Linked DNA regions of Homo sapiens: all the other regions are linked to region 6. Evidence: promoter capture Hi-C in 16 types of primary human blood cells and fetal thymus (Javierre and others, 2016). All regions are on one chromosome and are shown on one strand. Each heading gives the region's core, a stretch centred on a gene start or on the middle of the fragment in contact. The rest is flanking DNA. Distances are from core to core; before and after follow the strand shown.

Region 1 (3,661 bases), core at 927-3,426, 490 kb after region 6:
TGTTTCTTTTCCATTACCCTGAGACTTCTTTCTCTCTCTCTTTGGTGGAACAAGTCTTTCATATCTTCCTGGGGAAGGGTGCATTAGAAGTAAAAATTTTGAAGCCTTGCATGTTTTTACTCTCCTCACATGCTGATTGATAGTTTGGCTGGATATAAAATTGCAGGTTAGACATAATTTTCTTTCAGAACTTTCAAAGTATTGTTCCATTGTCTTCTAGCTTTCAGCATCACTGTTGAGCAGTCTGATTTTATTTTAAATCCTAGTTTTGGGCCGGGCACAGTGGCTCATGCCTGTAATCCCAGCACTTTGGGAGGCCGAGGTGGGTGGATCACCTGAGGTCATGAGTTCGAGACCAGCCTGGCCAACATGGCGAAACCCCATCTGTGTTAAAAATACAAAAATTACGCCTATAATCCCAGCACTTTGGGAGGCTGAGGGGGGGTGGATTACTGGAGGTCAGGAGTTCAAGACCAACCTGGCCAACATGGTAAAACCCCATCTCTACTAAAAATACAAAATTAGCTGGATGTGGTGGCTTGCACCCGTAATCCCAGCTACTCGGGAAGCTGAGGCAGGAGAAACGCTTGAACCTGGGAGGCGGAGGTTGCAGTGAGCTGAAATTGCACCATTGCACTCCAGCCTGGGCAAGAAGAGCAAAAGTCCGTTAAAAAAACAAAATTAGCTCGGCGTGGTGGTGCATTCCTGTAATCCCAGCTACTGGGGAGGCTGAGGCAGGAGAATTGCTTGAACCCAGGAGGCAGAGGTTACAGCGAGCTGAGATCACGCCACTGCACTCCAGCCTGGGCACAGAGCAAGACTCTGTCTCAAAAAAAAAAAAAAAAAATCCTAGTTTTGCCTGGCACTGTGATGCCTATAATCCTAGCACCTTAGGAGTCTGAGGTAGGAGGATTGCTTGAGGCCAAGAGTTTGAGACCAGAGTGGTCAACATTAGCAAGATCCCTGTCTCCATTAAAATAAAAATAAAAATAACTAAAAAATAAATAAATAAAATTAGAAAAAAAATCTTAGGTTTTCTCTTCAGGGCTTGGCAGAATGCCTGGGACATGGTGACATTCAGCAAATCTTTGTTGAGTGAGTGAACACAGATACTTGCCACATCCAGAATGTTTGGTGAAGCTATTGTCATTGACATATTGACTCAGAATGTGTTGCTTTGCCGTTATGATTGTCTACCAGCAGTTCCTGTGTTCTGTGTGGTTTAGGGGGGAGCTGTTTTCATCCTAATCTTATTCTGGAGGCTCTCACCACTGGGGTCCAGGAAGTTCCAGTCTGATTAGTGCTGGCTCCACCCCCAAGCTGCTGCAGAAACCTACCATAATCCAAGATTTTCGGGGGCCTGTTGGTCAAGCATTGCCCACCACCCTTCTGTCTGCAGGTGGAGGCAGTTCAGACTGACCTTGGATGTCTGGGGTATTGCCTCCAAGGGCGTGTGCTCCAAAGGCTGCTCCTGCCAATTGGCCCTGGCCTATCACAGTTCCCTGCACCCCATAAGCCATCTCTCTAGTAACAACTTTTCAAGATGCCCCTCCTCTCCATTCCAGTGCTCCTGTCTTGGTTCAGACCATTACATTTCTCTCCTGGTACACTCCTGTAATCTAACTGGTCTCTCTGCCTATGGGCTAGTTAACCACCTTGCAGGGTTTTTTTGTTTGTTTGTTTGTTTGAGACAGTTTTGCTCTTGTTGCCCAGGCTGGAGTGCAATGGCGTGATCTCGGCTCACTGCAAACTCCACTTCCCGCGTTCAAGTGATTCTCCTGCCTCAGCCTCCCAAGTAGCTGGGATTACAGGCATGTGCCACCATGCCCAGCTAATTTTTGTGTTTTTAGTAGAGACAGGGTTTCACCATGTTAGTCAGACTGGTCTCAAACTCCTCACCTCAGGAGATCCACCCACCTCGGCCTCCCAAAGTGCTGGGATTACAGGCGTGAGCCCCACACCTGGCCTGCAGTTTTAAAATATATCTGCAGAACTTCAACAGGTTTCCCTCCCAAAGATGGAGGTTCATTCCTCTTTCCTTGAGTGGAGGCTAGACTTACTGACTCACTTCTAACAGATTGAATATGGCAGAAGTGATTGTATGTGATTGGGTCATATAGCACTGGGACTTCCCCCATGTTCCCTCTTGGATCACTGGCTCCAATGTTCGTTGCCATGTTGCAAGCAGCACCATGGAGAGGCCCATGGGGTGAGGAACTGAGGCCTTCTGTGAATGGCAGATGAGTGGGCCATGTTTGGAGGTTCTAGCAGGGGAGCACAGCCACTCACATACCCTTGACCAAAGAACAGCCCTCTATCGGGGAAGGTCGTCCTCTTCAACCTAGCGCACAGCTTCGGGAAGGACATATGTGGAGCAGTGAGAGAGGAAGGGGACACCTGCCGCACCATCCAGATCAGCTGAATCAACCCTGGCAATCAATGGTGTGACAGATATCATAGCCGGATCGAAGTGGGCCATTTTAGAAGCACATCTGCTGGCCGAGTCAAGCCTTTAGACAGCTTGTCTGCAACCTCGTAGGAAGCCCTGAATGACAACCAAGCTGCTGCCAGATTCCTAACTTTCAGAAACCATGTGAAATAGTAAATATTCATTGTTTTAAGCTGCTAAGTTTTGAGATAATACACTATGTAGCAATAGATAACTAATATACCACTTTCCAAATTACCCTTCATATCACTGCCAAAGTAATCTTTCTTTTTCTTTTTCTTTTTCTTTTTTTTTTTTTTTTTTGAGACAAAGTCTCACTCTGTCACCCAAGCTGGAGTGCAGTGCCACAATCTCGGCTCACTGCATCTCCGCCTCCTGGGTTCAAGCGATTCTCCTGCCTCAGCCTCCCGAGTAGCTGGGGTTACAGGCACATGCCACCACCCCTGGCTAATTTTTTTGTATTTTTAGTAGAGACAGGGTTTCTCCATGTCGGTCAGGCTGGTCTCAAACTCCTGACCTTAGGTGATCCACCCACCTCGGCCTCCCAAAGTCCTGGGATTACAGGCATGAGCCACCGTGCCTGGCCAAAGTAATCTTTCTAAAATAAAAATCTGTTAGCAAGGTGCCTGTGGTCCCAGCTACTCGGGAGGCTGAGGTGGGAAGATCAATTGAGCCCAGGAATTCTGGGTTACAGTGAGCTAAAGAAAGAGAGAGAGAGAGAGAGAGAGAGAGAGAGAGAGAACGAAAGAAAAAGAGAAAATGAAAACCTGATCAAATAATTTTCCTTCTAGAATCCTTCTGTGGCTACCCATGACTTTCAAGATTAAGTCCTAACTCTTTTGCTTAGCACACAGGGCAAGAGAATGGCGTGAACCCGGGAGGCAGAGCTTGCAGTGAGCCAAGATTGCACCACTGCAGCCTGGGTGACAGAGAGAGACTCCGTCTCAAAAATAAAAAATAAAAAAATAATAATAATAATAAAGGAGAAGGATGGGTCTCTTTCCTTCGGCTCCCCTGGCGAGGAGATTCCTGGCTCTAGGGCTGACAGCCAACCAATACAGTGTTGTTAATGTATTGAAATACTTTCATTCTAGTTAGCAAACAGCCATCCCTGAGCCCCTTGAATACTCTTTCATCATCCTAGCCTGCTTTCCTTGGGACCCCAAGACTTCTTCTGAATCCAGCAAGTAAAAGAGCATCTCAGCGGACCTC
Region 2 (4,067 bases), core at 666-3,165, 350 kb before region 6:
ACCTCCCTGGCTGCTGTGTTAAAAATAGAATACTGTGGAATGGGCATGGGCTAATGCCTTCCAAATAAACTGTAAGAGAGATAGTAACAAGAGGTAACAAAAACATGGTCCCATATTGGATGTATTTTGGTAGTAGAGTTGACAAAATTTGTTTGTGGATTAGGTGGAGATACGAAAAAAAGTAGGAGTTAAGGATGACTCCAGAACTTTTATCCTAAGCAGTTGGGAAGGATTAAATTGCCAATTGCTCAGGATAAAAGTAAATATTACTTTTATTTACTAATATTGGGAAGACTGCAGGAGGAACAGGTTTGGGAGGGAAAGATGAAGAATTTATTATAGTTAAGGATATGTTAAGTTTAAGATGGAGGTGCCAGGTAATTGGTTACAAGAGTCTAGAGTTCAACCATAGGGAAATAACCAGGGTTTTAAGTAGTGATCCACTTCCCTCAGTTATATATGAATGACTTAATAAGGTGAGATATAAATACCTGCCTGGTTGTATACCTAACCATAGAAGATAATTAGAAGTAAAACTTACTGCATTTGAGTTCTCTAAACTAATAAGAAAAAGACAACAGAATCGTTCTCAAGAAATTAAAAATTTTAATGAATCTCTTGCCAGATAGTAGTAAAAACTAACATTTATCAGGTGCTTCTTATGGTGGGCACCACTCTGAGTACTTTATTTGCATTATCTCATAATCCCTGGGATAACCCTATGTAGTGATACTATTATTGTGACTGTTTTACAGAGGAGGAAACTAAGGCTTATAGTATTAAGTAATCTGCGCAGGTCACATGGTTAATTGGCTATAGAAACAGGATTTGAATCCAGACAGGCTTGCTCCAAATCTTATGCTCTTAACTGTACTCCATTCCCTCAGACTGGCGAGGGTAGAAAAAAATGAAGATAGATATAAATGCAGTGGAAATCAAGATCCAGCCAGCCCCTAAGGGAAATAAGCTGACAGTTCTTTATTCAATAGAATCTTTGAAAATATAAGGGAAACATTATGCATAATTCCTTTTTTCTGACTTTTTTATTATTATTATTATTTGGTTTTTTTGAAACGGAGTTTCGCTCTTGTTGCCCAGGCTGAAGTGTAATGATGCAATCTCAGCTGACTGCAACCTCCGCCTCCTGGGTTCAAGCAATTCTCCTGCCTAAGCCTTCCAAGTAGCTGGGATTAAAGGTGCCCATCACCATGCCCAGCTAATTTTTTGTATTATTAGTAGAGATGGGGTTTTACCATATTGGCCAGGCTGGTCTCAAACTCCTGACCTCAGGTGATCCACCTGCCTCAGCCTCTCAAAGTGCTGGGATTACAGGCATGAGCCACCACACCCAGCCTTTCCTGACATTTTATTATGAACATTTTCAAACATACAGAAAAGCTGAAAGAATTATATGATGAACACCCGTATCTCCTACCACCTAGATTCTACACTAATTTTTTTTTTTTTTTTAACAATTAACATTGCTCCCATGAAAGAAAAGCTCAGGATTTGACAGCTTCACTGCCGAATTTTTCCAAACATTTAAAGAACTAAATACCAGTTCTACTCAGACTATTCCAAAAAATTGAAGAGAAGGGAATGCTTCCAAATTCATTCTACAAGGTCATTAGTATACTGACACCAAAACTAGACAAATATACAACAAAAAAGAAAACCACAGGCTAACATCCCTGATAATCTTAGATGCAAAAATCCTTAACAAAATTCTAACAAACAGATTTCAACACATTAAAAAATATCATTCATCATAATCAACTGAACTATCCTTCATCCCAAGGATGCAAAGATGGTTCAGTATATGCAAATCAGTAAATGTGATACATCACATTAATAGAACCAAGAATAAGAACCATAGCATCATTTCAGTAGAAACTGAAAAAGCATTTGAAAAAATTCAACATCCCTTCATGATAAAAACTCTCAACAAAGTGGGCTTAGAAGGAACATAACTAAAAATACTTAAGGCCATATATGACAAACCCACAGCTGACATACTGAATGGAGAAACATTGGAAGTCTTTACTCAGAGATCTGGAAGAAGGCAAGGATGCCCACTTTCACCACTGTAACTCAACATGGGACTGGAAGTCCTTGCCAGAGAAATTTAGGCAATAGAAAGAAATAAAGGGCATCCAGATTGGAAAGGAAGGCCAGGCACAGTGGCTCACACCTGTAATCCCAGCACTTTGGGAGGCTGAGATGGGCAATCACTTGAGGTCAGGAGTTCAAGACCAGCCTGGCCAACATGATGAAACCCCGTCTGTACTAAAAATACAAAAATTAGCTGGGTATGATGGCGTTCACCTGTAATCCCAGCTACTCAGGACGCTGAGTCACAAGAATTGCTTGAGCCCAGGAGGCAGAGGTTACAGCGAGCTGAGATCATGCCACTGCACTCCAGCCTGGGCAACAAAGCAAGACTTCATCTCAAAAACAAAAAAAAACAAGACATCAAATTATACTTTGTCAGAGACAGTATGATCCTATATTTAGAAAAACCTAATGATGCCACCAAAAAACTTAAAACTGATAAACGAATTCAGTAACATTACAAGATACAAAACCAACATACAAAAATCTGTAGCATTTCTATATACAAATAGGATACCCAAGCTGAAAAACAAGAAGGCAGTCCCATTTATAATAGCTACCAAAAACTACCTAGGAATAAAGGTTTTTTTTTTTTGAGACGGAGTCTCACTCTTGTCACCCAGGCTGGAGTGCAGTGGCATGATCTCAGCACACTGCAACCTCCGCTTCCCAGGCTCAAGCAATCCTTGTGTCTCCGCCTCCTGAGTAGCTAGGACAACAGGCGCACACCACCACGCCTGGCTAATTTTTTTTATTTTTAGGAGAGATGGGGTTTCACCACGTTGGCCAGGCTGGTCTCAGACCTCAGGTGATCTGCCTGCCTCAGCCTCCCAAAGTGCTGGTATTACAGGCATGAGTCACTGCACATAGCCTCCTAGGAATAAACTTAACCAAAGAAGTGAAAGATCGCCACAAAGAAAATGATAAAAGACTGATGAAAGTAATTGAAGAGGCTGGGCATGGTGGCTCACACCTGTAATCCCAACACTTTGGGAGGCCAAGGCAGAAGGATTACTTGAGGTCAGGTGTTCAAGACCACCCTGGGCAACACAGTAAGACCCTATCTCTTTTTAAAAGAAAAAAAATTAAATTTTAAAAACAGAAATTGTAGAAGACACTCTAAAAATGGAAAGATAGCCCATGCTCATGAATTGGAAAAATTATTATTGTTAAAATGTTCATACTACCCAAAGCTAGCTCTAGACACAATGCAATCCCTATCAAAATACCAATGACATTCTTCAAAGAAATAGAAAAAACAATACTAAAATTTGTATGGAACCACAAAAGACCCCAAATAACCAAAGCAATCCTGAATAAAAAGAAAAAAAACTGGAGGCATCACACTGCCTGGCTTCAAAATATACTACAAGGCTATAGTAACCAAAGCAGCATGGTACTGCCATAAAAACAGACACATAGACCAGTGGAACAGAATAGAGAACCCAGAAATAAATGGATCGGCTATAAATGCATGGAATTTTTGATTGTTTGGAGACAACGTCTCACTCTGTCATCCAGCCTGGAGTGCAGTGGTGTAATCTTAGCTCACTGCAACCTCCGCCTCTCAGACTCAAGCTATCCTCCCACCTTGGCCTCCCAAGTAACTGGGACTAAGGCACGCACCACCACGCCTGGCTAATTTTTGTGTTATTTTAGAGACAGGGTTTTGCCATTACACCCAGGGTGGTCTCAACCTCCTGGCCTCAAGTGATCCACCCGCCTCAGCCTCCCAAAGTGCGTTACAGGCATGAACCACCACCATGCCCAGCCAATGCGTGGATTTTTAACGCTGATGCCCAAAGCATACATTGGGGAAAGGATAGTCTCTTCAATACATAATGCTGTGAAAACCGAATAGTCACATGCAAAAGAATGAAAATAGACCTCTTATTTCTTATCACATACAAGAATCAAATCAAAATGGATTAAAGACTTAAATGTAAGGCCTGAAC
Region 3 (3,994 bases), core at 1,088-3,587, 320 kb before region 6:
GGGGAGTAAATAACAAAATAGTGAGTATAAAGATGTCAAAATTATTTGAATAACTGATGGAGAATTTCCCCCTCTTCTTTTTTTCCCACCCATCTTTTGTATAGGGTTTATTTTTATCCCAAACCCCTTCCTCCCAGGTTACCAGTGGCACTGGGTGAAACAGTGCCTTAAGTTATATTCCCAGAAACCTAATGTATGTAACCTGGACAAACACATGTCTAAAGAAGAGACCCAAGATCTGTGGGAACAGAGCAAAGAGTTCCTGAGGTAAGTCTTGTCAATCAGAATGAAGTGTTAATACTCAGCTCAGATCATCACAGGTCTTTGAAGGAACTGTTCTATAACAATGCAGTAAAAGTGACTGGCTGGGTTTTTTTTTCCCTTCATTGTTTCCAAGCAAAAACAGCACAATTGTATTCTTTCCCCAGGAACATTTGGACAGATGCTTTGACAGTTATAGTAAATTGAGATCCATTTTAAAGACTTGCTTATCATAGCTTAGATAATTGAGTTCATCCTCATTAATCATCACATGATCCATTTCCATTAGCTTCAGCCATTTTTTTCTACTTAAAGTGAGTTCCTTTGAAGGCTTTTGGTATCCTAGGAAAGGTAACATCGAAAGCTCTTTGCTTCTACCCTCCTAGATGGATTCAGTGGTACTAGCCGTTTTATGATAGGTCAGTTGTTCCTGATGAGAATAACTAATATTTTCACCTTCATGCTTCAACATTCATTCATTCATTCCACAAATACTTAATGAGGGTCAGTAGTGTGTCAGGCATGATGCTAGGCGTTGGACACAGAAAGATAAAGGCACCCTCCCTGCACTCAGTAGTGCATAGTCTCTGGCAAGAATGCATTACCTATGAGAATAATTACTGTAGAGCTCAGAAAGTGTTATGATGCGGTTTAGAAAAATACTGTGGGAGCATAGAGGAGGAAATAATTATTCCAGGCAGGGTAGAAGTGTGAACGAAGAAAAAATGATTTTTTGTTTGTTTGTTTTTTGTTTTTTGAGACAGAGTCTCACTCTGTCACCCAGGCTGGAGTGCAGTGGCGCGATCTCAGCTCACTGCAACCTCTGCCTCCTGGATTAAAACGATTCTCCTGCCTCAGTCTCCTGAGTAGCTGGGATTACAGGCATCCACCACCACGCCCCACCAATTTTTGTATTTTTAGTAGAGATGGGGTTTCGCCATGTTGGCCAGGCTGGTCTCAATTCCTGACCTCAAGTGATCCCCCTGCCTCAGATTCCCAAAGTGCTGAGACTACAGGCGTGAGCCACCAAGCCCGGCCTGAAAAAATGATTTTTTTATTGGGTTATCCTCCTTTCACTGTCCATTTGAACTAATCTTCAAAAATGAGTAGGGGTTTACCAGTCAGAAAAGTAAAAAGTCTCTACTGAGTAGAGAAAGCAGCCTGAGCAAAGATACAATATTTAAGACAGAATAAATCGTCCTGCGAGACAAGAGCATAGGATGTGTACTTTCTTACGTTTATTCAGTTGTTATCTATTGAGTTTCTGCTATGTGTCAGACACTGTGCTTTAGTGTTAGAGATTCAAAGGCAGATAAAAAACAGTTCCTGTCTTCAAGAAATTTGTACTTTAGTTATGTTCAAAAACCTACAAACAGATAATTAGATACAATTTGGGTCTGGGCTTGGTGGCTCATGCCTGTAATCTCAACACTTTGGGAGGCCAAGGTGAGAAGAACACTTGAGGCCTGGAGTTACCAGCCTGGGCAACATAGCAAGACCCCATCTCTATGAAAAAAAATTTTTTTTTTTTTTTTTTGAGACGGAGTTTCGCTCTTGTTGCCCAGGCTGGAGTGCAATGGCATGATCTTGGCCCACTGCAACCTCCACCTCCCGGGTTCAAGCAATTCTCCTGCCTCAGCCTCCAGAGTAGCTGGGATTACAGGCAAGCGCCACCACACCCGGCTAATTTTGTATTTTTAGTAGAGGTAGGGGTTTCTCCATGTTGTTCAGGCTGGTCTTGAACTCCCGACCTCAGGTGATCTGCCCACCTCGGCCTCCCAAAGTGCTGGGATTACAGGTGTAAGGCACTTCCCGGCCCCAAAAAAATTTTTTTTTTTAATTAGCTGGGCATAGTGGTGTGTGCCTGTAGTCCTAGCTACTCGGCAGGCTGAGGAGAGACTGTCTCTAAAAATAAATAAATTAAATAAATAAATAAATAAATAAATACAATTTGGTAGGTGCAGGGACAGACATTATAAGATATAATGGGAATGGTCACTTAAGTAGCTAGGCTGGAGGTAGATTATAGAAAATGCTTCCTGGAAGCCATGAGTAGGTGGAATTGGTAAAACATGAAGGAGGAGAGGTGGATTTGGGCCAGATGGTAAAGGTTTTAGTGATGTAGAGCAGGGGGGTCCCCAATCATGGGGCAGCAGACCTAGACAGCCAAGCATTACCACCTGAGCTTCGCCCCCTGTCAGATCAGCAGCAGCATTAGATTCTCATAGGAGCGCGAACCCTGTTGTGAACTGTACATGCAAGGGATCTAGGTTGCGCACTCCTTATTGAGAATCTAATGCCTGTTCATCTGAGATGGAACAGTTTTCATCCCCAAACCACCCCCCATCCCCACTCCATCCATGGACAAATTCTCTTCCATGAAACTGGTCCCCAGTGCCAAAAAGGTTGGGAACCACTAATGTAGAGCACTAGTTCTGGAGTCAGACTGACTGTGTTCAGATCCCAGCTCCACCACTTAATAGCTGTGTAACCTTGAGCAAGTTCCTTCACCTTTCTGTGTCTCATAACAGTTCTTTCCTTATTGAATAGTATGAGGATTAAACAAGATAATACGTGAGAAGTCCTTTAAAGTGCCTGTTAAAACCATTTTACCAACTTTGTGTCCCGTTTGGTGTTACGTGGCCTTAATTTTGTAGTTTTCAGAAACTGTCATGCCGATTCTAACAGAGTAAAGAGAAGATTTTCTTAAGGGGAAAGGAAAAGTAAAATTCAGTGGTTTTTTTTAAACCTTGGTCTATAGGTTATGGTATCAACAGGAGCAGTGAGGAAAATCCTGTCCATGAGCTTTTAGTAGTGTCTTCTTCGCAACTGAGAGCAGGGGAAAGGAAGATCGTGGTTAAGTAAAATTAGTCCAAGAGAACCTACTGCTATTAAACCAGCCTGTGTTTTCAAGTAATTTTTTTTCCTTCTGATATATGACTCTGCAGAAATCCCAGCTGTCTTTTAAGATAGCTCAGATGAATCTCTGTAATAAATCATCCTGTAAACAATGGTGAGATACCTTTTTTTTGGTCTAATAAATTAGCAGAAATAAAAAATTTGATGGTCGTACCTTATGTTGTCAAGGGTTGGAAGAAATTGATATGCTCAAGACATTGTACTGGCAGCACTGAAAATCGATTAAGGCCAAGTTTTCATTGTATCACTATGTGATACGTGCTTCAGTTTCCTCATGTAAGAAATGAAGGTATTGGACTGGATAAGCCATTCAAGGTAATTGAATCATGGGCAGTCAGGGTCATGTGGACAGTACCTGGCAGCTCTCCCAACTTTGCCAGAGTCTCTCAGAACAGGAGAGAGTCTGTTGAGTTCAAAACAGTTCCCCTGGAGATTTTGATTAGGTATCATAACATCCTCTGACATTGAGAACCACTGAAGTAAAGGACCTCTAAGATCCTTTTGGTTTTAATTTTCTAGAATTCTATAGTCAGGGAAGAAAAAACTTTAAATAGGAAATGAAGAAGAAATACTTGAACTTAAGCAAAAACAAAAATTATTTAAAAAAAAATACTTGAACTTAAGGACTGTTCAAAAAATTAGAGTACCTCAATTCTGTTCTTTTTTTTCCAAAGTGAATGGCGTAGCTAGAGATTGTTGTAAAAGTGTACAAGAGTTATGTGCAGGCCGGGCACGGTGGCTCATGCCTGTAATCCCAGCACTTTGGGAGGCCGAGTTGGACAGATCATCTGAGGTCAGGAGTTCGAGACCAGCC
Region 4 (3,995 bases), core at 1,159-3,658, 330 kb before region 6:
CCCCAGCTGACACCTGGAATATATAGCTATGTGAGATCCTAAGGAGAGGACCCAGCTAAACTGTGCTCAGCTGTGAGAGATGTGTTGTTTTTGAGCCATTACGCTTGTGGTATTTTGTTATACAACAATAAAAAAACTAACACAAATACCTATGATAAAGCTTTTTCACTTTTTAATCAAGTATCACTCAAAATGTAATCAATAAAGACTGTAGGCCGGGCACAGTGGCTCACGCCTGTAATCCCAGCACTTTGGGAGGCCAATGCAGGAGGATTGCTTGAAGCCAGGAGTTCAAGATCAGCCTGGGCAACATGGCAAGACCCCCATCTCCACAAAAATAAGCCAGCACAGTGGCTCACACCTGTAATCTCAACATTTTGGGAGGCCGAGGTGTGCGGATAGCTTGAGCCCAGGAGTTCGACGAGACCAGCATAAGCAACATGGCGAAACCCCATCTCTACAAAAAATACAAAAATTACCCAGGTGTGGTGGTGCATGCCTGTAGTCCCAGCTACTCAGGAGGCTGAGGTGGGAGGATCACCTAAGCCTGGGAGGCAGAGGTTGCAGTGAGCCATGACTGCATCACTGCACTCCACCTGGGGTGACAGAACAAGACCCTGTCTCTTAAAGAAAATGAAAATTAAAAAAATTTTCCAGTCTGGACAGTATGGCGAAACCCTGTCTCCACTAAAAAATACCAAAAAAGTTAGCTGGGCATGGTGGCACATGTCTATAGTCCCAGCTACTCAGGAGGCCAAGGCAGGAAGATCACTTAAGCCTGGGAGGCAGAGGCTGCAGTGAGATCAGGCCACTGCACCCCTGCAGGGGGACAGAGCGAGACCCTGTTGCAAGATAAGAATTTTTTAAAACACTTTAAGCTTTTTTTTCAACAATTTTTGTGAGTGTATAGTAGGTGTATATATTTATTTGGGTATATATTTATATATATTTATATATTATTAGGTGTATATATTTATATATTTATATATATAAATATGTATATTTATTATGGAGTACATGAGATGTTTTGATATAGGCATGCAATGTAAATTAAGCACATCATGGAGCATGGGGTATCTATCCCCTCAAGCATTTATCCTTTGACTTATGGGGTATCCATCCCCTCAGGCATTTATCCTTTGAGTTACAAATAATCCAATTACACTCTGAGTTATTTTAAAATGTACAATTATTATTGACCATAGTCACCCTGTTGTACTATCAAATAGGTCTTATTCATTCTATTTTTTTTGTACCCATTAGCCATCCCCACCTCCCACCTACTTTTCCTTAATACTTACAAAAGGTAAAATGCACCTTCTGACATGGCCGAACTGTGCAAAGTGTTCTTTCAGCTGACCTGTGTGGCAGAAGAAAACATTAAAAGTAGTTACTATATTTTGGATTCTCTATCTTAGACTGTAGAAAGACAGGGTCACCAGATTTCTTGTGGACAGGAACTACTTTGCATTTCCTTAAAGGCTTAAGATTTAGGAAGCAGCTATGGTACTGACTATAAAGCCATAATGTACCAGACTTGGTGGTGAGATGGACAGAGAAGTTGTTGAGTTGGCTGCAGTCTCCATCCTCAGCAAATATCGAGTGTTTTCATACCAGTTACTGTGCTATGTGGACTATGATCCCTGTGAGCAGATCACAATGAAGAAAAAGACAAATTACAATCCAGTGTGTTTCCCGGTATACTGAAGATTTCCAAATAAAATCCCAACTTACTGGTCTTTCACAATTTAGTAAAATGTGTTGAGTTGCCCTCACCTACCCTTCCTGCCTTATTTCCCACTGCTAGCCCCTAGTTACTCTCTAGTACAACTAATTGAATTATCTTTATCTGTCCTGCGGGTTACCCTCTTTGCATATGTTGTTCTCTCCCCTCCATATGTTGGTAATCCTATCTCCCCCTGGCTAACTTGTAACACTATAACTATCCTTCAAGACCCAAACCAAGTACATCCACTGAGTATTACTTTATTGGGCTCCTATCACAGTACAAGACAATGTACCAGCCCTGTGAGACTTCAAAGATTTAGAGTATATAATCTTAAAGACTAAAAACTACACGATCTGTTTCTCTTCTGAACTACAGTGCTTGTACTTCACTGATTTACTTTTTATAATATCTATTTAGTTCTCCTAGTTCACCAAAACCTCACTGGTTCAACAATTGCCTATATTTGTTCTAAGTCTCTTCATCCCCACCACTAATTGTAAGCTCCCTCAGCATATAAACCACTATGTTTACAGTGACCAATAAACAGCAGGGCCTCAATATTGGCTAAATGAATAAGTAAAAGTCCACTAATCCTTCCAACAATCCACAGAGACTAAATTTTGAAGGGCTCTAATGGTTAAGTCAAACCAACTGGCAAGATCAAGGTCTCACAGAATATGATACTGGAGAACAAAATAATGTTAAACATATGTTTTATACCAGATAATTAAAGTCCTAGAAGACACTGATTTCAAAACAAACCAGCTCTGGAAGGTAACCCTCTTCCTAAATTGCCTAAAATGGTGAAGGAAAAACAGCTGCAAGCACCAAGAACAATGCCTACCACAGAATAGATACTCAAATAAATATTTGCTGAATCAATGGAACAACAAAGAGAAACTGTTTCGAAGCTGTACATAATGCTGACTCTTTTTAAGGGTTTTAAACTAGCCCTTTATTGTCTGGAAACTTGCATCCGCAAGATGCTAATGAAACTCCTCAGCCTTTCCATAAAGTTTCACAGGGACTACGGGAGACTTTACTGGGCTTGGTCTTCACCAACCACATGTTTAAAACACGGGGCACAAACCAACCTATTTCCCATTCTACTACTCACATCTGAGCCACTAAAAACTTAGAAGAAACTAAATCTTGCTCCATTTTGTTTCCAGGGGTTGACCTGAAACATGAATATCTACAAAAAGAGTGACCACGAATGTTTACATGTTGGTAAGCAAATATAAAAACCTCATCTCAAAACTGCAGCTGACAAAAATTGAAGGTGGTGAAAGATTTCAGAACTAATTATTCCAACCTTTATCTGTAGACTAGGCCTCTCCCGTAAGTTTCAATTTTAGTTACCGTGAAAATAACTATCATTTGCTGAGTACTTACACTGTATCTAACACAAGTCTAAGAAGTTTGCATATAAACTCAATCCTCTCAACAATCCTATGAGTTGGGTATTATTGACTCCATTTTATCGATGAGTAAACTGAGGCCCAGTTGTGAGCCCTTTTCCCATACTAACTTCAGTTATTCAAGTGATAACAACGATTAAATGGCCAAGTTGGAATTCTAACCCCAACGGTCTAGCTTCGGAGTCCACTTCTCAGCCACAATGATATACAACCTTTGTCCAATTGCCTGACGGAAACCTCACAAGTTTCTCAAAGTCAACACATTCAAACTTTACTCATCTTCTCTTGGCCTGCTCCTAACTTCTAAACAAACAATTCACCAATGCTAAAAACCCAGAAATCATTTCTCCCTTTCCTTTATTCCGTACACTTCTCCCACTTAAGCCATCACGAAACGGCATCTAATTTGCTTTTAAAACATTAATGCATCTGACCACCATCCTTCTACCATCGCCCTAATTCAGGTCCTCACGTTTTAAGTAAATTAATGAAATTGCCTTTTAGCTCCTCTGCACGCCTACAATCTTGCCACCTTGAATCCATCCTCCACACTACAGTCAAAATTATCCCTTCTAAATTGTAAATCTTGGTTACCAAGTAATAAATCTTTACACCAAATCACTCCTAAAGGCAAGAGCCGGTGCATTCGTGACCCCAAAAGCTCAAGGGACATCCCTAAACGGTTAACTGCAAACAAAATTTCTTTCTGCTCACTTGCATGCTCAGGAGCAGTCTCCTAATTCAGCCACCACGCTGACTTAAGTACCCTGCAAAAAGCAGAAGCTTTGAGGATCACTTGGACCTAAAAATTCCACTACTCCCACATCTCCATCACTCACTCGACG
Region 5 (4,150 bases), core at 739-3,238, 270 kb after region 6:
GCCAATCCAGTTCCAACCTGGTCCCCAAAATCTGAGTATAGATAAAGCCAGGCAGAGGGCAAGCCTGACAGAGTTTCACATCATCAGTGGGGTCAGGTGGGGTCATTTGATTTATCTGAAGAACATTACGAACTGTCTTCCCATACATGTACATGCGCGCACCATTTTGCACACATTTCAGTTTCTTGGATGCAAGGTTAGGAACTTTAGGCCAGTTCATTTCCCATGCAAAGGCTGGAACGATCTAGAGTCCTCTTGATGTTCAAATATACTCCGGAATATACTAAGGCAAGCAATGCTAGGGCCAGAAACCATATTTCCTTGTCATAGGAGATCCAAAATCAAGAGGTCTTTTGAAGTAGAAATCAGCCTGTTCCAGCTCAGTCAGAAGCAAAACTTCATGCCCTCTCTAGGGATGACCTACAAGGCAAATGGATCTGGAAAATATCTAATGCATTGTTTTCCCATGATTTTACTGGACTGTACTTCCTAATGCTACTGTTATGCCCACTCTCCTAACAGATACTTAGCTGACTTGTTCCAATTATTAGATTTTACAAATTGTATTATTCATGTGGAAATCACCTGAGGGAATACAGAACAAAATTTTAGACTTGGACAGGATCTCAGAATCATTTCACATAAACCCTTCATATTAAAGATGAAGAAACTGATATCCATTGTGGTTAATTATGTACAAGATCACACTGTCTAATGACAGAGGTGGAATCAGACTCTCAAAAGAAAAATATCTAAAACCAAGCAGCCATAATCAAGACATTACACAACATGCAGAGTTTTAAATGTGTATCATTATTTTAATTTTAGAATACGCTAGATTCTAGTATGTTTTTAAAAAACGAAACAAAACTCCTAGACTACTCCCTTAGGTCAGCTTGTCCCCAAGTCTCTTAGCTCCTGATCAGGCCCAGCAGCTTTTCTGGCGGGTCTTTGTCTTAAAGAATGTGGCTCTGCTGGAAAAGCCTACTCACTCCGTAACTGTGTGTGTGGGCTGTTCTCAGCCTTCTGGAGCTGCCAGCCTAGCCTACAACAAAGAAGGGATATAAACACAGACACAAGAAAGGGACAAGGAAGCCAGAGAGGAAGGCAGGGAGAAAAAGAACTGGGAGAAAGGAAGCCCAGGAGAAGCACTGGCAGCACTGGTGGGGCCGGAGCAATCTCATGTGGGCTCCGTTTCCTGTCTCTATTCTTTCTTTTCCTTTCAATAAGGAGAGCCATGCTTCCAGCTGAGATGTGATTTACCAAGCAAAAATCTTCAAATTCCTTTTCAGAACTCACCAGTCTGCCTTGTTGAAAATCAGTTTGTGTTCCTCATATACAACTAGGTAATAGCTAAGACATTAAGATTTCCTGTCAAGTTAAAGCCATGTTCTCACCTTTTACCCTAAGGGGGGAAAAGTCAACTACTCAAGCCAGATTTAAAATTTCACTATCTTCAAGTAGCCTCATCAATGGACCCATATGAAAACTGATATATTTTCAGAGGAAAGTACGGTAAGATTAAATTTCTTTGGCTGAAATCAATCTTTTCTATTCTCAGACTTCTCTATTCTAACTTAACCAAGTTCATATGATCAAGTTCTCAGTTTCAAACACTAGAGCTTAACTTAGATTTTCATCTAAATCTTTTCTTTCATATCTAAACAATAATCATATAATAAACATAGTTATGTAATAAAGCCCCAAACAGGATGTGTTTCCACTCCACAACACTGTGTGGATTCTGCTGGTATTCCCATACTTGAACCAGGAGCAGCTTCGTCACTAATGACAGGCTCTGGCTGACTACTAAGAAAATGCTCAGTATATGACATAAGAAACAGGGAAATTGCCTCTACTTCTGAGATAAATGCATTCTACATTCCTAAATTCCCAGGGCAATCCATATTAAAAAGAGCATCTTTTGTTTCTACCCTAAACTCTGCCATATGTTAGAATGCACCATTGAAGTGATGCCATTTCTGCTTGGTTCCTTTATATACATTTCAGGGTCTCTTTGGACAAACTATGAATACAGAAATAAAACAACCTAACTGTCTGAAAAATGAGAACGCATGTCATGATTCTTATATTCCTTTTTAAAACAGTGTCACACTTGAAAGATAACATCCGCTCCCCAGGACAGAAAGTACACATTGGTGTGGTTCTAATGGTCTGTTTCTAAAATCTCTCCTTGGCAGAGAATATAAATCTCTTCCTTTATACACGGAAGCTAAGAGATTTTTATTTGCAAAGACTTTAGGTGATATTAGTCCTCCTCACCTGTTTGACAAGCACATTCTTCATGACGACCATGGGAGACAGGGTAGGGAAGGCATTCTTTGCAGTTTTGGAGTTCTGCCTCGGCCTGTCTTCTCTGCTCCAGCCTAAGGCGCTCAGCATGTCCTCGGACTCCATCTGCTCTGCAGAGCTCAGACATTCCGAGCTCCCATCTGGTGGGCAGAAGAATGGTCAACTCACTCAGGCTCTAGACTAGGGGCTCTTAACCAGGCTCCTAAGGAGCTACAGACCTCTTGAAATTGAATGCAACACTTGTGATGTGTTTTTGTGAATTTTATTGAGAAGGAGGCTTTTAGCTTTCATTGGCTTTTCAATGGGATCTATAATTAATCCCTCCTCCACCAAAGATTAAGAATTATTGCCCTAGGACGAGTTTGACTTCCTTTCTAACTCTCTTACAGACAAAAACCTGCCTCAATTAGGGCTCACATGAAAGTAATCATCATCAGTCTACAGGAGAAATGAGTTCAAGGTTTCAAAGTTAGTTTATTACTTTCGAGAATCTATGTTGAGAAAGGAGACGAGTATGGCCCAAGGTAGGATTAAGACCTTCAGAGGCTCTGGGTACCACAAGATGTAATTACAATTAAAAAAACAAAACCAATCTGTAAACCTCAAAACAATTGCATTTTCTCCAGCTTAAGGAAGACTGTATGACTGGAAGGATATACATCAATGGAAATATGATTTAGAATCTCCAGTGATACTTTTAAAAAACCATAAATGTTGGGATCCTTCCCTTGATCTACTGAAGTGATTTACCTGGTTCCATGGTAGGTGTATTTCACAAAACACAAGTAATCCAAATGTACACCTCTAGTTAAGAACCATTAGACTGAAAACAAATGAGCCCAGAAGCAATGTACATATTGAGTGCCCAGATCTTGGTTTCTAAATGCCATTCTGCACATAAAGGAAATGAGGGGTCCTTGGAGAAACAGCTGATTCCAAGACTTTGACAGGGAAGATACGAGATGAGCCTGGACAGCTGCTTGTCCCAGAAAGCAAAGAAGTGCTCAAACACTAACAGAGACATGTCAACGAGACACAAGAGCTATCTTGAGGGGACTCCTGCTGGTCAAATTTGAGACAATTTGAGTATCAGAAATGATGATTTTAACAGGTTGACAAACTGAATTACAAAAGAATTCCATGACTACATTAGTGATACTCAAAAGAAGAGGGAGGAGGGAAAGCACTTTTTACAGAAGAATGTCAGCTAATGACGTACAAAGAATGGTAAAATTAGAAGATCACCCCCTTTTTTTTTTTGAGACAGAGTTTCGCTCTTGTTGCCCAGGCTGTAGTGCAATGGCATGATCTTAGCTCACCACAACCTCTGCCTCCCGGGTTCAAGCGGTTCTCCTGCCTCAGCCTCCCGAGCAGCTGGGATTACAGGAATGCACCATCACGCCTGGCTGATTTTGTATTTTTATTAAAGACAGGGTTTCTCCATGTTGGTCAGGCTGGTCTCGAATTCCTGACCTCAGGTAATCCACCTGCCTCGGCCTCCCAAAGTGCTGAGATTACAGGTGTGAGGCAACGCGCCCGGCCAAGATCACCACTTTTAAACCGCCAATGTAATGATTCAGGCAAAGATCATCAATGGATGCTAACTCTGGTAAACAGTTTGTTGGGGAATAGGATAGTCACACAATTATAAAGTATTATCCCATAAATTACTTATTAATTACAAAGAGAAAAGGGTACTTTAATGGTAAAGAAATCTGTACACACTATCTTAGCCAAGTGATCAACCAACCAGAGCATCACCAAGAGTAAGACTAACTTATGAGTCTCCAAATGTGTTGCAATGGGAAGGATACAACATCAACAACATAGTATTCTG
Region 6 (3,689 bases), core at 1,068-3,567:
GTGTCTCAAAAAAAAAAAAAGAAAGGAGGTCTATATACTCTTCTTGGTCTTTTATTCAAGGATTGCAGAGAAGTGTAATCACTGGAAGAGGAAAAACAAACCGATGTGACCCTCCCTTCCTCTCCCAAAATACAAATATACATCAGTGGCAAGGCCAAAATTAAAATCCAAGTTACCTCTACCACAGTCTAGGACTTTTTGATACTCCTTCCGGTAAAGAGGTAAGAGCTCAGGCCAAGTTAGAAGGAATAAGAAGTAGACGGATGACAGCATGTGATTTCAAAACATCTTATTTTTGTATACCTTGTATTGAGGGAAGCCTAGCTGGCTAATCCACTCTGCAACTTCCTCTGGATCCCAATTAAGATGCTCAAATTGTAACTCAGTCCCTTTTTCTGGCTGGGTTTCGTCATCTTCAGAGACCCGTTCCTTCAACTCTTGGGACAAATCTACAACTTCCTTTTCATGAACGAACTCACTTAATTCTGTCTGAGACTCTGAGGGATCTGAGTATGAGCATTCTTCACTGACATTAAGCAATTTTTGGAGTGGTTGCAAAAACTCATAATGTGTACCAATTGATTCTTCACTTTCTCTGAGAGATCCTAATGCGTAATATTCTTTTCTAAATTTGTCACTTAGTGACAACTTTCCTCTTTTAGGCTCACGGTGCTCTAGCTCATCGTTTCCTACAGAATACTTAGACTTTATTGGTTCTGGCCTGTCTTCCTTGGAAAATTCTACATGTGTCTCCCTTGGTTTGGTTTCATCTGGTAACTCTAGAATTTTCTCAGTTGGCTTTGTTTGTGTTTTCTCTTCAACTTGTGGGTTGATCTCCTGTGGTAGCACTGGACCAGTCTCCTCTGGTGGCTGTGGATTTTTTTTCTCATTTGACTTTCTTATCTCTTCTGGACTTTCTGGTTTCATCATTTCTGATTGTTCTAGAATTGTTTCCTCATTTGTTTTTCTTGATTCTTCCTCAGGAAACTCTAATTTGATCTCTTCTAGTGGCTCAGGAACGTTCTCATCAGTAGACTTTCTTGGCTTGTGGTCTGGAAAGTCTGGTTTAGTCCGCTCAGGTAGTTCTGTCCCTTTCTCCTCAGTTGCCTTTCTTTGCATCTCCTCTGGAACCTCTGGTTGAGTCTCTTCTGGAGGCTCTAGACCTGCCTCCTCACTAGACTTTCTTGGTTCCTTCTCCAGAAATTCCAGTCTAGCCTGCTCGGGTGGCTCTGTCCTTTTCTTCTCAGTTGACTCTCTTTGTGTCTCCTCTGGAGTCTCTGGTTTGGTCATCTTTGGTGGCTGAAGATCTGTCTCTTCAAGTGATTCTCCTAGTTTCTCACTTGGAAAATCTTGTTTGGTCTGCTCTGGAGGCTCTAGACCTGTCTCTTCATGTTGCACTCTAAGTGATTCCTCTGGAACCCCCGGTTCAGTCTCCTCCTCTAGTAATTCTAAATTTCTCTCTCTGACTGTGGCCCCCGAAACCTCAGACATGGTTTCCGTTGGTGGCACTGGATCTGGATCTGTTTCCATAGCTGACTCTAGGAACACATCCTCTGTAACATTTGGTTTAGCCTCCTCTGGTGGCTCTAGGTCTGACTCTTTATGCGTTTCATCCATAGGGGCCTCCAAATCTTTGAAAAACTCTCCCATCTCTCTGGATGTTTCCGACTTTACCTCTTGGTGTATCCCTGGTTCAGTTTCGCTTGGTACGTCTCTCTTGGACTCCTTGGCAATTCCTTCCTGGGACGTCCCGCCAGGTTTCAGCTGCACGTTCTTAGCACTGTCTGGCTCCCCCTCTTTGAAGTCCTCTTCCTCGGTCTCTGGCTGTGGCTCTTGGTAAATCTCTGCTGGTAGCTTCGAGTCTGCCTTTGCCATGGTGTCTGGTTCGGCATTTTCATACAATTTATGAAGTCCAGGCAGTTCAGGCCTCTCAGGCTCCAGCTCTCCATCTTCATCTGGGCCGGAATCATAATCCTCCGGGACTTCAGCCATTTGCAGCTTAGCAGACGCGCCGCGGCTTCCTAGCAACCCCAACTTCCGATAGCGTCTCTATGGATACCACGATTTCCGGCAGTGTCTTCCTGACTCTTCCCCAGGTTTTGTTTGTTCTTTCAAGCCCTGACTTTAAAAATCGTCTGTCACAAGCACGCAGTAACCCTCCCTGCGGCCTCATCGCCAGCCTCAGCGGGCCAGAGCTCCTGTGGCCGCCCCTGGGTCAGCTAGCTTTTCAAGCGGCCGCCGCGCCGCTTCTTCCGGCCTGCAGGCTGCGCTCGGCTGTGCTCGGCGCTCGCTCGGCCTTCGGCTGTTTCCGGAGCCACTCGCGGCTGGCAGCGGAGAGCTCCGTGCGCGGGCTGCAGATGTCTGACCTGCAGGCGGCTGAGGGGCCGGGCTCCTGGAGCCCCACAGCCCGCCCAGGGTCGGCTGGCGGCGTCGGGGACTGCCAGGGAGTGGAGGGGAGCCAGGCGGCCGCCTCAGGTACGCAAGGCCGGGGCGCTGGCGGGTGGGTGCCGCCCGGCCTCAGGGCCCCGCACCACGGCGCGAGCCTCCGCCGCGCTCTGTCCTGGGCTTCCCCGCGGAGCGGACCCACCTCGGCAGCCCCTTCGCGCGCGGGGCCCCTTCCCCGCCGCTGCCACCACCCGGGCCCTGGGCTCGAGGTTATTTTCTACTCACTCCTGTTTCGAAATGCCTTGATTCCTGCCCCGCTTCCTTTCTGAGATCTGCCCAAATGGTAGTGACAGGGTGGCTCTGCCCCTGGCGCCTCTTCAGCTTCAGTTTCAGCTTCAGCCGGGGTTCGGGTCCCACCTCCGTCTGCTAATCACATCTAGACTGCCGACCCGAACCCTACTGGCCTCGCCGCCCCCTGCTTCTGGCTCCCCACCCTATCCCCATCTCAGTCCCCTGCCCCAGCCTTACCACGCGCCTCTCGGCCCCCACCCGGGTTGGCAGCCTTGCCTTCCTCTGCCAGAAGCCCACTGCGCCCTAGCCTTCCTGCACATAGGCCCCCTGGCCTTGCTGCCATCCTCTCCATCGCTTAGAGTGGGAAAAATGAAAAGCAGAGTTGAAATAGGTAGTGTCTGGGGTCTTTTGCTTGAACACAGTAGCCAAAGCAAGAGCAGGAATTAAAAATTTGGCCTACCTCCCTCATTCTCAAGACCCTCATCCTCTTCTTGTCCAGGACGACGTCTCCATTTCTACTAACGCGAGTTCCTCCGTGTGTATTATTTCAGTGTCCAAAGACAAAAGAGTCCATCCATCACACTTTCTTCTTTCAGCCTCCTGAACACCACACACGATGCAACTGAAAGGATGCTCTTTTGAAATACGAAAGGGTAGAGGGGAGAGAACTTGTCTTATTTAAGTAGCAAATATAAATTAATTTTCTAGGTCTGAAATTAAAATAGACACCATAAAGTATAATGGTTGAGGCACTACTGTGGAGCCAGGGTGCCTGGATTGGAGTCTGAAACGTCAGTTTCCTCATCTGTAAAATGTGATTACTAAAAATATCTGCCTCATAGGATTATTGTGAGGATTACTTGAGCTGCTTTGTCTAAGGCATTTGGGGTATAGTCCATGGTACACACTATACTCGTCTCAACCATTGTGACAGTAAGGTCTCTTTTTGTTCAGTTGAACTTCCTGTGCCGCCAGAGGTGTTCTTGGATGTATGGCTTCCAACATGGTGCCTT
Region 7 (3,887 bases), core at 956-3,455, 260 kb before region 6:
CAAGATCGTACCACTGCACTCCAACCTGTGTGATATTGTGAGACTCTGTCTCAAAAAAAAAAAAAAAAAAGAGAATTACCTCTTTCCATGTTTCTCAGGCTCACTTAATCACTCTTGACCTCTGCCCAATGTCTTTCTCCTCACCAGAGAGGGGGGTGGGGTGCCTGGTTGGTGTGGGACATGTTCCTCCACTGGATAAGAATGATCTATCAATGGTCCTGGCTTGGAGGATCTGGTCTCTTATTTCTTTTCTACCAGGACAAGTGGGAGAGCAGCATATGTACTTGTTGGGTTTCAAATTTTCTTTTAGGTGTGCTTCATCAAGGTCTAGTCTGGAGATCAGAAATTAACCTCACACTCAAGCCACATTCTCCCAGACCACTTATATCCATAATAAAGATGACATTTTATCAGGTGACATTTTTGTCTGCACTTAATTTGTGGAATCCAGTGCAAAATAAAAATTACCAAGAATTTCAAGATGGCAACAACAGAGCATTAAACCAAGTGCAGGGCCCTATGCAACTCACACAGGTCCCACGCCCATGAATTCAGCCGTGCACTTTAGTTCTGCATATGCTGACCCTTTTGTCTTATTTCTCTCTCTTTTTTAGATGTAATTAAAGCCTATGTCTTATTTCTCAATTGGTTCATATCTATGGTTGTTACAGTAGGTAATTGGTCAGACATGAGTGGGGCAGGAGAGGGCCTCCACCAACCAGGAGTGTCAGGAGACCATCAGATGTTGGTCAGGCAGTTGTTAACTGTCTCTCTAAAATAATAATCGGTCAGAGCCAGCCCAGGGAAAGGTAGTCTCTGGATAGATAGCAACACCTGAAACTGGTGTTCATCAGCTTCCCAATAAGACCTTGGGAGTTGGGTGAGTGGGCTCAAGCATGTGCCCACATATGCCCAGAGGCAAAATGGTAGAATTTAACTGGTATATGACCTTTCTCTAAGAACACTTCTAGGAACAAATCAGACATTGTCTTCAATAGGAGAAAGCCAAGGGAAACTCCAGAGGTGGCAAGTGAAATTACAAATTTCCCTTTTGCATTCAAGAGTGTGGGGAAAAGAAAGAGCGATCAGACTGTTACTGTGCCTATGTAGAAAGAAGTAGACATAAGAGACTCCATTTTGTTCTGTACTAAGAAAAACTCTGCTGCCTTGAGATGCTGTTAATCTGTAACCCAACCCCCAACCCTGTGCTCACAGAAACATGTGCTGTGTGGACCCAAGGTTTAATGGATTTAGGGCTGTGCAGGATGTGCTTTGTTAAACAAACGCTTGAAGAGAGCATGCTTGTTAAAAGTCATCACCACTCCCTAATCTCAAGTACCCAGGGACACAAAACACTGCGGAAGGCCGCAGGGACCTCTGCCTAGGAAAGCCAGGTATTGTCCAAGGTTTCTCCCCATGTGATAGTCTGAAATATGGCCTCATGGGAAGGAAAAGACCTGACCGTCCCCTAGCCCGACACCTGTAAAGGGTCTGTGCTGAGGAGGATTCGTAAAAGAGGAAGGCCTCTTTGCAGTTGAGGTAAGAGGAAGGCATCCGTCTCCTGCTCGTCCCTGGGCAATGGAATGTCTTGGTGTAAAGCCCGATTATATATTCCATCTACCAAGATAGGAGAAAACTGCCTTAGGGCTAGAGGTGAGACATGCTGGCAGCAATACTGCTTTTTAATGCATTGAGATGTTTATGTATGTGCGCATCAAAGCACAGCACATTTTTCTTTACCTTGTTTATGATACAGAGACATTTGTTCACATGTTTTCCTGCTGACCCTCTCCCCACTATTACCCTATTGTCCTGCCACATCTCCCTCTCCGAGATAGTAGAGATAATGATCAATAAATACTGAGGGAACTCAGAGACCAGTGCCAGCGTGGGTCCTCCGTATGCTGAGTGCCGTTCCCCTGGGCCCACTTTTCTTTCTCTATACTTTGTCTCTGTGTCTCTTTCTTTTCTCAGTTTCTCGTTCCACCTGACGAGAAATGCCCACAGGTGTGGAGGGGCAGGCCACCCCTTAAAAGAGCTGCCTACTCTATGCTAACCTCCTTCTCTGAGTGACTCTCCAAATTCTATTGGGTAATGGCGACAAATGGCACCCACCCCCTAAAAGAAAAGATTCACATTTACTTGGAGCAAGATGGGTGCCTGCTTAATATTTACCCAACGTCTGAATTCATCTTTCTCTCTAATAGCCCTGTGTTTCATGGAAAAGCTACCTAAATCTTTAACCAATAACTTTAACCTGGTCAGTCCTACCTTAGGGGTTTAAAAATAGGCCACACTGGCTGGGCGTGGTGGCTCATGCCTGTAATCCCAGCACTGTGGGAGGCTGAAGCGGGCAGATCACGAGGTCAGGAGATCGGGACCATCCTGACTAACACGGTGAAACCCCATCTCTACTAAAAATACAAAAAAATTAGCCGGACATGGTGGTGGGCGCCTGTAGTCCCAGCTACTCAGGAGGCTGAGGCAGGAGAATGGCGTGAACCCGGGAGGCGGAGCTTGCAGTGAGCCAAGATGGCGCCACTGCACTCCAGCCTGGGCGACAAAGCGAGACTCCATCTCAAAAAAAAAAAAAATAGCCCACACTTACTCAAACAAGCCTGAACAAGAAATCTAACTGAGCAATCACTTTAGTGGGGGATAACTTCTACCATATATAGGTAACCTCTTTATCTGCTCCCATTTTACAGGACTTGCACAGCAACAAACCATAACTTCCTAACAGAAAGAAAATAACTTTTGTCTAATTCAAAAGTTATAAAGGTAAAGAGGTATTTTTGGTAAAGAGTGTTACAAGAAAAGAGACTTTGTATGAAAAAGGATCTTGTATGGTAAATTCTTGTCCTAAAATAAAATAACTGGTTGTTTAAAAAGACAGACATTTAGGACAAGTCAGAAAGTCCAACCATGTCATAGATGGTCTGTATAAGTTGTGAAAAGATTCGTGAAAGGAATTTACAACTTGCCTTCTTTAAAGCCATTAAATTTGGCCAGGTGAAGTGGCTCATGTCTGTAATCCCAGCCCTTTGGAGGCTGAGGTGGATGGATCACGAGGTCAGGAGTTTGAGACCAGCCTGGCCAACATAGTGAAACCCCGTCTCTACTAAAAATACAAAAAATTAAGTGAGTGTGGTCGTGGGCACCTGTAATCCCAGCTACTTGGGAGGCTGAGGCAGGAGAATCACTTGAGCCTGGGAGGCAGAGGTTGCAGTGAGCCGAGATCGTGCCACTGCACTCCAGCCTGGGTGACAGTGTGAGACTCCATCTCAAAAAAAAAAAAAGCCATTAAATTCTAGGTAAGGCCTGGGCACATACAGAGTTAGTCATGCCCCCTAACTATGCTGGAAAAAGTCAGACCTTATCTGCACTTCCGTCTAGTGTCCTAGACTCCAAAGCTAGTACATAATTAGAATTGTTTTCTTACCAGGTTTTTCATAAAAAGTAAATGTTGCTAGGAGTTAACAGTGTAGGCCAATATGGTGAAACCCTGTCTCTACTAAAAATACAAAAATTAGCTGGGCCTGGTGGCATGCACCTGTAGCCCCAGCTACTCAGGAGACTGAGGCAGGAGAATCGCTTGAACCTGGGAGGTAGAGGTTGCAATCAGCTGAGATCATGCCATGACACTCCAGCTTGGGTGATGGAGTGAGACTCTGTCTCAAAAATAAAAGAAAAAAAAAAGAGTTAACTGTGTAACATTCACTTGAGACTACTGGAGAAAACAGTTTTCCATGCAAGGTGTATAAGAAAAGTAGAATGTGCTTTTGGTAAAAGATTACAAGAAGGCATGAAAGCCAGGTGCAGTGGCTCATGCATGTAATCCTAGACTTTTGAGAGGCCAAGGCAGGTGGATTACTTGAGGTCAGGAG

The links. The method cuts DNA at HindIII sites, captures the fragments that hold promoters and counts their contacts. A CHiCAGO score of 5 or more calls a contact.
Region 1: a contact is called between a fragment that was not itself captured here and the fragment with the promoter of TMED8 in region 6, in 1 of 17 cell types (neutrophils). The highest score is 5.1, in neutrophils.
Region 2: a contact is called between a fragment that was not itself captured here and the fragment with the promoter of TMED8 in region 6, in 1 of 17 cell types (naive B cells). The highest score is 5.3, in naive B cells.
Region 3: a contact is called between a fragment that was not itself captured here and the fragment with the promoter of TMED8 in region 6, in 1 of 17 cell types (naive B cells). The highest score is 6.3, in naive B cells.
Region 4: a contact is called between a fragment that was not itself captured here and the fragment with the promoter of TMED8 in region 6, in 1 of 17 cell types (non-activated CD4 T cells). The highest score is 5.7, in non-activated CD4 T cells.
Region 5: a fragment that was not itself captured here is called in contact with the fragment with the promoter of TMED8 in region 6 in 1 of 17 cell types (naive B cells); the score reaches 7.0 in naive B cells.
Region 7: a contact is called between a fragment that was not itself captured here and the fragment with the promoter of TMED8 in region 6, in 1 of 17 cell types (naive B cells). The highest score is 5.5, in naive B cells.

Annotation. Positions count from the first base shown.
Region 1 is chr14:76,889,079-76,892,739 of GRCh38, reverse strand. It overlaps the pseudogene RN7SKP17. Among named protein-coding and RNA genes, the nearest start is that of LRRC74A, 65 kb to the right of the region's middle. The HindIII fragment of the contact is 7,667 bases long and covers 1-3,661 here.
Region 2 is chr14:77,725,455-77,729,521 of GRCh38, reverse strand. The region is part of intron 10 of SNW1 (SNW domain containing 1); the gene reads left to right. Among named protein-coding and RNA genes, the nearest start is that of SLIRP, 19 kb to the right of the region's middle. The HindIII fragment of the contact is 4,579 bases long and covers 1-4,067 here.
Region 3 is chr14:77,691,011-77,695,004 of GRCh38, reverse strand. It overlaps ALKBH1 (alkB homolog 1, histone H2A dioxygenase), which reads left to right. Exons shown (of 6, transcript NM_006020.3): 3 at 105-267. Among named protein-coding and RNA genes, the nearest start is that of ALKBH1, 15 kb to the left of the region's middle. The HindIII fragment of the contact is 5,830 bases long and covers 1-3,994 here.
Region 4 is chr14:77,708,203-77,712,197 of GRCh38, reverse strand. It overlaps SLIRP (SRA stem-loop interacting RNA binding protein), which reads right to left. Exons shown (of 4, transcript NM_031210.6): 1 at 3,990-3,995; 2 at 1,302-1,360. Among named protein-coding and RNA genes, the nearest start is that of SLIRP, 2.1 kb to the right of the region's middle. The HindIII fragment of the contact is 3,055 bases long and covers 881-3,935 here.
Region 5 is chr14:77,108,115-77,112,264 of GRCh38, reverse strand. CIPC (CLOCK interacting pacemaker) reads right to left here. Exons shown (of 4, transcript NM_033426.3): 3 at 2,284-2,453. Among named protein-coding and RNA genes, the nearest start is that of CIPC, 12 kb to the right of the region's middle. The HindIII fragment of the contact is 6,167 bases long and covers 1-4,150 here.
Region 6 is chr14:77,375,722-77,379,410 of GRCh38, reverse strand. TMED8 (transmembrane p24 trafficking protein family member 8) reads left to right here and starts at 2,317. Exons shown (of 6, transcript NM_213601.3): 1 at 2,317-2,475. The coding sequence starts at 2,358. It overlaps SAMD15 (sterile alpha motif domain containing 15), which reads right to left and starts at 2,032. Exons shown (of 3, transcript NM_001010860.4): 1 at 304-2,032. The coding sequence starts at 1,992. RefSeq lists an enhancer at 2,050-2,259 and a silencer at 2,310-2,739. The HindIII fragment of the contact is 9,682 bases long and covers 1-3,689 here.
Region 7 is chr14:77,633,423-77,637,309 of GRCh38, reverse strand. No RefSeq gene overlaps it. Among named protein-coding and RNA genes, the nearest start is that of SPTLC2, 19 kb to the right of the region's middle. The HindIII fragment of the contact is 7,970 bases long and covers 1-3,887 here.